Regions from separate parts of the Homo sapiens genome. Here region 2 is linked to region 1. Evidence: promoter capture Hi-C in 16 types of primary human blood cells and fetal thymus (Javierre and others, 2016). All regions are on one chromosome and are shown on one strand. The core of a region is centred on a gene start or on the middle of the fragment in contact, and the rest is flanking DNA. Distances in the headings are between cores, read along the strand shown.

Region 1 (3,214 bases), core at 242-2,741:
CGTGCCTCTCTTTACAAACACACACACACACACACACACACACACACACACACACACCCCCTTAATAGGGAATGAAGGATGAACAGGAAAGAGAAATCTCAAAACAATCAAGCACATCTCTTTAGGAAGAGTTCCCTTGGTGACAGAGTTTCCCCTTCTAGCCTTTCTCCACGTAGGCAGACTTCCTAAGTCACTGCCCCAACTGTTTGTGCAGTGGGGAAGGAATCAATACAATGAGCCATGTACAGGGACCAGAATATGGGTCTTCTGAAACCAAGCTCCATGCAATTTCCTACGAACTCCAGTGGAATACAGAAGTGATGGAATGTGAGCTCTTCGAGGCTCACCTGCCACAAATGGTCTGAAAATTCTTCCATTTAAGTCTCATTATTTTCGGTTAATGCATGGACTCCCAGGAGTCCTCCTTTAAAATGGGAAGGCACTGAGAAAAGTAATACAACAGGGTCATATTTCCTGGTGTGTGTTCTAAAGAATAGTAGTTCTTTGAGTTACTCAGTGAAAGAAAGAAAGAAAGAAAGAAAGAAAGAAAGAAAGAAAGAAAGAAAGAAAGAAAGAAAGAGAAAGAAAGAAAGAAAGAGAAAGAGAAAGAAAGAAAGGGCAAGCTGGGAGCAGTAGGTAGTTTATGATTAAAAAAAAGAGTACATGCTGCAACCTAGATCCCCTCTTATAGATTTATAATGCACACTGATTTAGCCAAGGCTCCTAGAAATCCTATAGTTTGTTTAATCCTCTGATTCCCACATTTATTTGACCAGTGGCTTTTTGGGACCAAACTTATTTGATTGCTTTCTTAGCTCCCTGGACCACTCTTCAAAAAATGCTGCCTGAAACCCTTCATAGAATCATGAAGCAAAGTACTTTGGAGCAAAGATGAGTCCTCCAAAGCCAGGAGAGGAGGAGTTGAGCTGAAATCTATAGCCCTGGCCTTTCTACTTCATGAGGTTCCACCACCTAGGTGCTGAATCTAAAGATCGGGGGTTAGGGCACAAGGGCTAACGTGGATGGTAAAGCCCAGAAGAGCAGGAGGAGGTGGGAGAGTAGCATTGACACCCGCTGAGTTGCCTGGAACAAATGGCCACACAGCTGTATTTTCCCTGATGTCTATCATCCCTACAGTCTGATCACTGGAGGGAAAAATGAGTAAGGACAGAGAGAAATAGGGTTATGTGTGTTCAGTTTTCACTTTTGTCTTTTCCTTTAAATGTCATTCACCTCCTTTTTGATCATCCACTCCTTTTTTTCACACTATTGACTTATCCCCAAATCTAAGAGAACTTCTCTGAAAACACTGAACACTTATACCCATTTACTCTGTAACAATCAAAGCCTCCATCAATCAGGTAAGTAAAATTCAAAGAAGCACCAGAAAGCATAACTTACCCCACAAATGTTTCTAGACAGTAGATATGCCCAAAAAGGGCACCAAAAAACAGGATCAACCTCATGGCCATGGGTTTTCCTGGAGTCCAGAATTCAGAGTCCTTCCTGAACTTTATTTGTAGGGATGGCAGCTGAGGGTGATCTGCTGGCCTTCTGAGAACTCACGTGAATTCCCACATGGGAAAATTCCCACCTGCATGTGAAATTCTCAAGGTTGTAGACATCCACCTGTGTGATATCACCAATGTGTACATGTTCCATTCCTAGGATAAGATAACAAACTTTGATGGAAAGAGAACAAAATTGCTAGAGCATACCAAGGGCAATATAGTTATGATTGAGACCATAAAACGCCACTAGCTACCCTGTGATAGAAGCCAGATTAATAGACCTAGAGGTTAAAGTCTTTTCTGGGTCTCTGACACACACACAAAAAAAAGGCCAGAGCATTTATAGTAATTACTCAGGCATCCTGTCTATCACATTCCATTAGTTTGCTCATTTGTTTATTTTTATAATGTTTACCTTGAAACACTGCAGTCACTCAGTCCACATCTGCTGAGTGTCCCTGTAGATGTGGCCCATTCCAATCCTCACTCTACATTAAAACAAAACAGAAGGCCTTTTAATATTCAATTTTGCACTTTCTCGAAAGTGATCCATCTGCATTTGCACCAAATTGATATCCCTCTTTCTGTGCTTTTTCCCAAAATGAAAATGTCTTTCTGATGACATTTCCTATAACAAGCAACAATGAAGTTGCTTGTTATAAAAAGTGTGAATTAAAAGAAAGTGTTTTCTTTAACCATCAATAATTCTTCCATCCAAAGAAAACCATTTGGCATATGTCTTTCCAAATTTCTTTCTCTGCTTTCGAGTTTTTTTCTTAAACAAAGATTAGACCATATCACGTATACTGTTCTTTAAACAAAGGTGATCTTTTCTTGTTCATAAACATAGATCTACATTAATCTGACTTTGTTCTTCATTGCTTAAGAAGAAAATATAACTGCTTATTTTTAGAAACCATAGTTTATTTAATTTTAGTTGTTCATACACGTTATATTAAGCCTAGAAAGCCTCAACCACAACAAGCAGCAAGGAAATTTTCGTCTGTCCTTTGTGTGTCAAATTTATCAGCACACACTTTAAATCTCTGGGTTTGCATTCTCAAATATCTGCTTTAAGGGGAAAGGTATATACACAGTGTTTCTGATTTTAAGAATGACTGGATTAACTTGGTTTTTCATTCTCCTGGGAGTCAGAGAGAAGACAGAAACCAAAAGGCAGAGGCCATAATTCATCCTCATGTCTCCAGCACCTATCAAATAAACAGTAGTTCAATAAACTGGAAGTATGTACTTGGAGAATCAATAAAAGCTTCCTGGAAAAAATCAAGTTTCAGGCTGGGCTCAGTGGCTCACGCCTGTAATCCCAGCACTTTGGGAGGCCAAGGCAGGTGGATCACGAGGTCAGGAGATCGAGACCATCCTGGCTAGCATGGTGAAACTCCGTCTCTACTAAAAATACAAAAAGTTAGCCGGGTGTGGTGGCGGGAGCCTGTAGTCCCAGCTACTCAGGAGGCTGAGGCAGGAGAATGGTGTGAACCCGGGAGGCAGAGCTTGCAGTGAGCCCAGATGGCACCACTGCGCTCCAGCCTAGGCAACAGAGTGAGACTCCGTCTCAAAAAAAAAAAAAAAAAAATGGAGTTTGAGCTGAGCCTTTGTGCCAAGGCAAATGTGAAAAGAGCCTGGATTTCTGGTGGTAAGAAAATATAAGCTAGACAGGGAACCAGGGGAGAGCACATGATACA
Region 2 (3,214 bases), core at 219-2,718, 350 kb before region 1:
AATGACTGACACCAACATGCATCTTGGTTAACTTGTACTGTGGAGAGAAACAAGTAATTTTTAAGACTTCTGGCAGAAAAAGCTAGTCATTTAAAAGTGAGAAAAACTAAGTCCGACTTCAGCCATTCATGGCAGTTTTCAGTGTCAGAAAAGAATGGGGACAGTATCTGCAAAGTTTTAAGAAACAGAACATGTGATACAAGAATAATACAGCTAAGCGAATTGTCATTCAAGTACAGGGACAACAAGCAGACTTCCACACTGGAAAGAATTCAGGGACCATAACACCTGTGAGCTTTTCTTGAAAAATAAAATTAAGCATTGAAGTTATATTAAATCAAAAGAGTGAATTCTGTAATAGAGGGGCTACAGGAAATGAATTACCAGTGAGCATTGAATGTATTCAATTATAGAAGTAGGGTTAAACTACTGTAGAAATTATGATTAAAGATAGAATGTAAATGTTATAATCCATGATAATACAAAAAGAATAATACTAACAAAAATTTGGAGATACACGGGAGGGCAGATGAGAGAGGAGAAAGCTTACGTGCATTAATTTTTTTGCTTTCATAGCTTAACTCTTTTATCTAAAGTTTTATGGCAGCGACAAAAAGAACTAGAATGTAAATCTCCCATATTTCAGAGAGAAAACACATTCACTTAGGAAAACAAAAGACACTCTTACATCTGTATTGTCCAATAAGATAGCCATTAGATACATATGGCTATTATAGTGAACATTAATTGAACTTTTGTAAAATTGAAAATTCAGTTCATTAGTCACACTAGCTATATTTCAAGTGCTCATTAGACACATTTAGCTTGTGGCTACTATGCTGAATGATGGAACATTTTCCATCATTGAAAAAAGTTCTGTTGGATAACACTGCCTTATAGGAAACAAAGAAAGTACTAAAAATAGAGATGTAACACAAAACAAATTCATAGAATTAACACCAGACATTGCCTATTAAAAGAAATACAGATTAGTTTAAAAATAAAATACAGCTAACTATATGCTACATATTGTGATGTATATAAAACAAGGCAAAGCAAAATTTGAATATAAAAGGAGGGGTGAAAGCATATAAGGCAAACACTACTGAAAGGAAGCTTGGGTGAAGGTATTAATAATTAGAAAATTGAATTAAATGCAAAAAGTTTTGAAGGAGACAAGAATGAGGTACTTTATCCAAAATGAGGAGGAACTGTCATGAATTATTTATTAATGTAACACCAAAGTACATAAGCCAAAAATCACAAAAAATGTAAATAGAAACAAAATAGTATCAGCCTTTGTTTTAAAAAGAAGGAAAAACCTAAGGGTAAAAAAGATATGAATAATATACTTGATACAGATTGATTAATACTTATGAAAACCTTACCTTTATAATAGAAAAGTCACCTTTATAAGTATTCATGGAACACTTACAAATTATTCAGCATTCAGCCCCTGAAAACCTGTTAATTCTAGAATGTGGAAATATAGTAGAGACTTATTCTGTCATTACAATGCAATCAAATGATACATTTATTTTGAGAAGAAAATGAACAGATAGTACCCAGATATGTCAAAATGGAAAAATAAAAAGAAAACCTCAACTTTTGGGACAGTATATAAGTAAAAATTGAAATTACAGAATATTTTTAAAATCTAATGATGAAAACCTATGAGTTCAACTAAAGCTATGGTCAGAGGAAAATTCATAGTCCTTGGCACTTAAATTACTGAACGAGTGTATTGTTCAGGGCTCCCCATTGCTGGCAGTAGAATCTAGTTCATAGATCCTCTTGGAAATCCGGAAAACCAAGCTTGCATCTGACAGAGCCAGAAAGAGTGCATCAGGGAAAAATGCCCACGCTACAAAATTTTTTAAGTGCAGGACACTTCCAAAAAAAGTCTTTTTTTTTTTTTTTTTTTGAGACAGGGTCTCACTCTGTCACCCAGGTTGGAGTACAGTGGTGCCATCTCAGCTCACTGCAACCTCTGCCTCCTGGGTTCAAGCAGTCCTCCCACCTCAACCTCCCAAGTAGCTGAGACTACAGGCACACCCCACAACACCAGTCTAATTTTTGTATTATCTGTAGAGATGGGGTTTAGTCATGTTTCCCAGGCTGGTCTTGCACTCCTGAGCTCAAGTAATCCTCCCACCTTGACCTCCCAAAGTGCTGGGATTACAGACATGAGCCACCACACCTGGCCAAATTGCTTTCCTAATTGAAAAAGAAATGAAGGACTATCAGTCAAAACTTCTTCCTCTTGGTTTCCTAATGGAGGGAGTCAGAGTTGTAGACCATTTTGGATTATGTGAGAGGAGTTGAGGAAGTGGAGAGATTGATAGCAGTAGTATAAATGCATGGGGAGCTAAAGAAGGGAGGGTAAAAGGTTAAAAACCTCTTTAAAGCATGGACATGGAATTTTGTAGCTAGTTCACACCTCTGCCTGTTTTTGAAGCTCAGCAGAAAGGTCTGAAGCCATTGATAATTTTAGAAAGCCATGCCAAAGAGAGATACCTCTTGAGTTAATTATTTTTGTTAATTTATTTTTAAAAGTTATGTCTAGTCTGATGGGATTTTAGGATTTGGGGGTATGTCAGACTAGGACGCTTTATACCATTGTCCTTAGTTTATCTTTTATGCTAATTATCAGTATCTAAAATTATGGGGAAGGGGTTGTTTTGTTTACGTGATTATCTTTCTTCCTCCCAGAATGATAAGTTCCATGAAGGCAAAGGACTTTTTGCTTTTTACTAATTTTGCTCATTGCTTTATTCTTGAATTAGAACAGTCTTCTACGCAGTAGTCTTAGCACATATACAAAGAATATGCTCCATAAATATTTGTTGAATTAGTAGCTGCATTAAGATAATTATGGGACAATTGGAAATTGGCTAGGGGTGAACTCCATGGGAGAGATTTTAATTGATCTTATGTTAACCAATTTGATTTTTCTTAGTCTGACTAAAGACATGACTGGAAAAGAAGATGTATACCGAGGCCCGGCCATCAGAGCTCTCTGCAGGATCACCGATGTAAGTTATCTGTTTCACTGAGTTACCAAATGGAACACTATGTTTATCTGCAGGTGGCCATGTAGATTTAGTAGGATTTCCTAGTCTGACTTTGTGAATTTTCAGTATAAGAGAAACATGATCACCAGAAAGGCTTTTGTGGCTCCAGGCTTTCTTTTGTCTTCAGATTTTTTTCCTTT

Evidence for each region. The method cuts DNA at HindIII sites, captures the fragments that hold promoters and counts their contacts. A CHiCAGO score of 5 or more calls a contact.
Region 2: a contact is called between a fragment that was not itself captured here and the fragment with the promoter of CPA2 in region 1, in 5 of 17 cell types (M0 macrophages, M2 macrophages, endothelial precursors and 2 more). The highest score is 7.5, in M0 macrophages.

The regions. Positions count from the first base shown.
Region 1 is chr7:130,265,140-130,268,353 of GRCh38, reverse strand. It overlaps CPA2 (carboxypeptidase A2), which reads right to left and starts at 1,491. Exons shown (of 11, transcript NM_001869.3): 1 at 1,402-1,491. The coding sequence starts at 1,472. The HindIII fragment of the contact is 5,023 bases long and covers 1-2,783 here.
Region 2 is chr7:130,616,811-130,620,024 of GRCh38, reverse strand. It overlaps COPG2 (coat protein complex I subunit gamma 2), which reads left to right. Exons shown (of 24, transcript NM_012133.6): 6 at 2,960-3,035. Among named protein-coding and RNA genes, the nearest start is that of COPG2, 50 kb to the left of the region's middle. The HindIII fragment of the contact is 699 bases long and covers 1,119-1,817 here.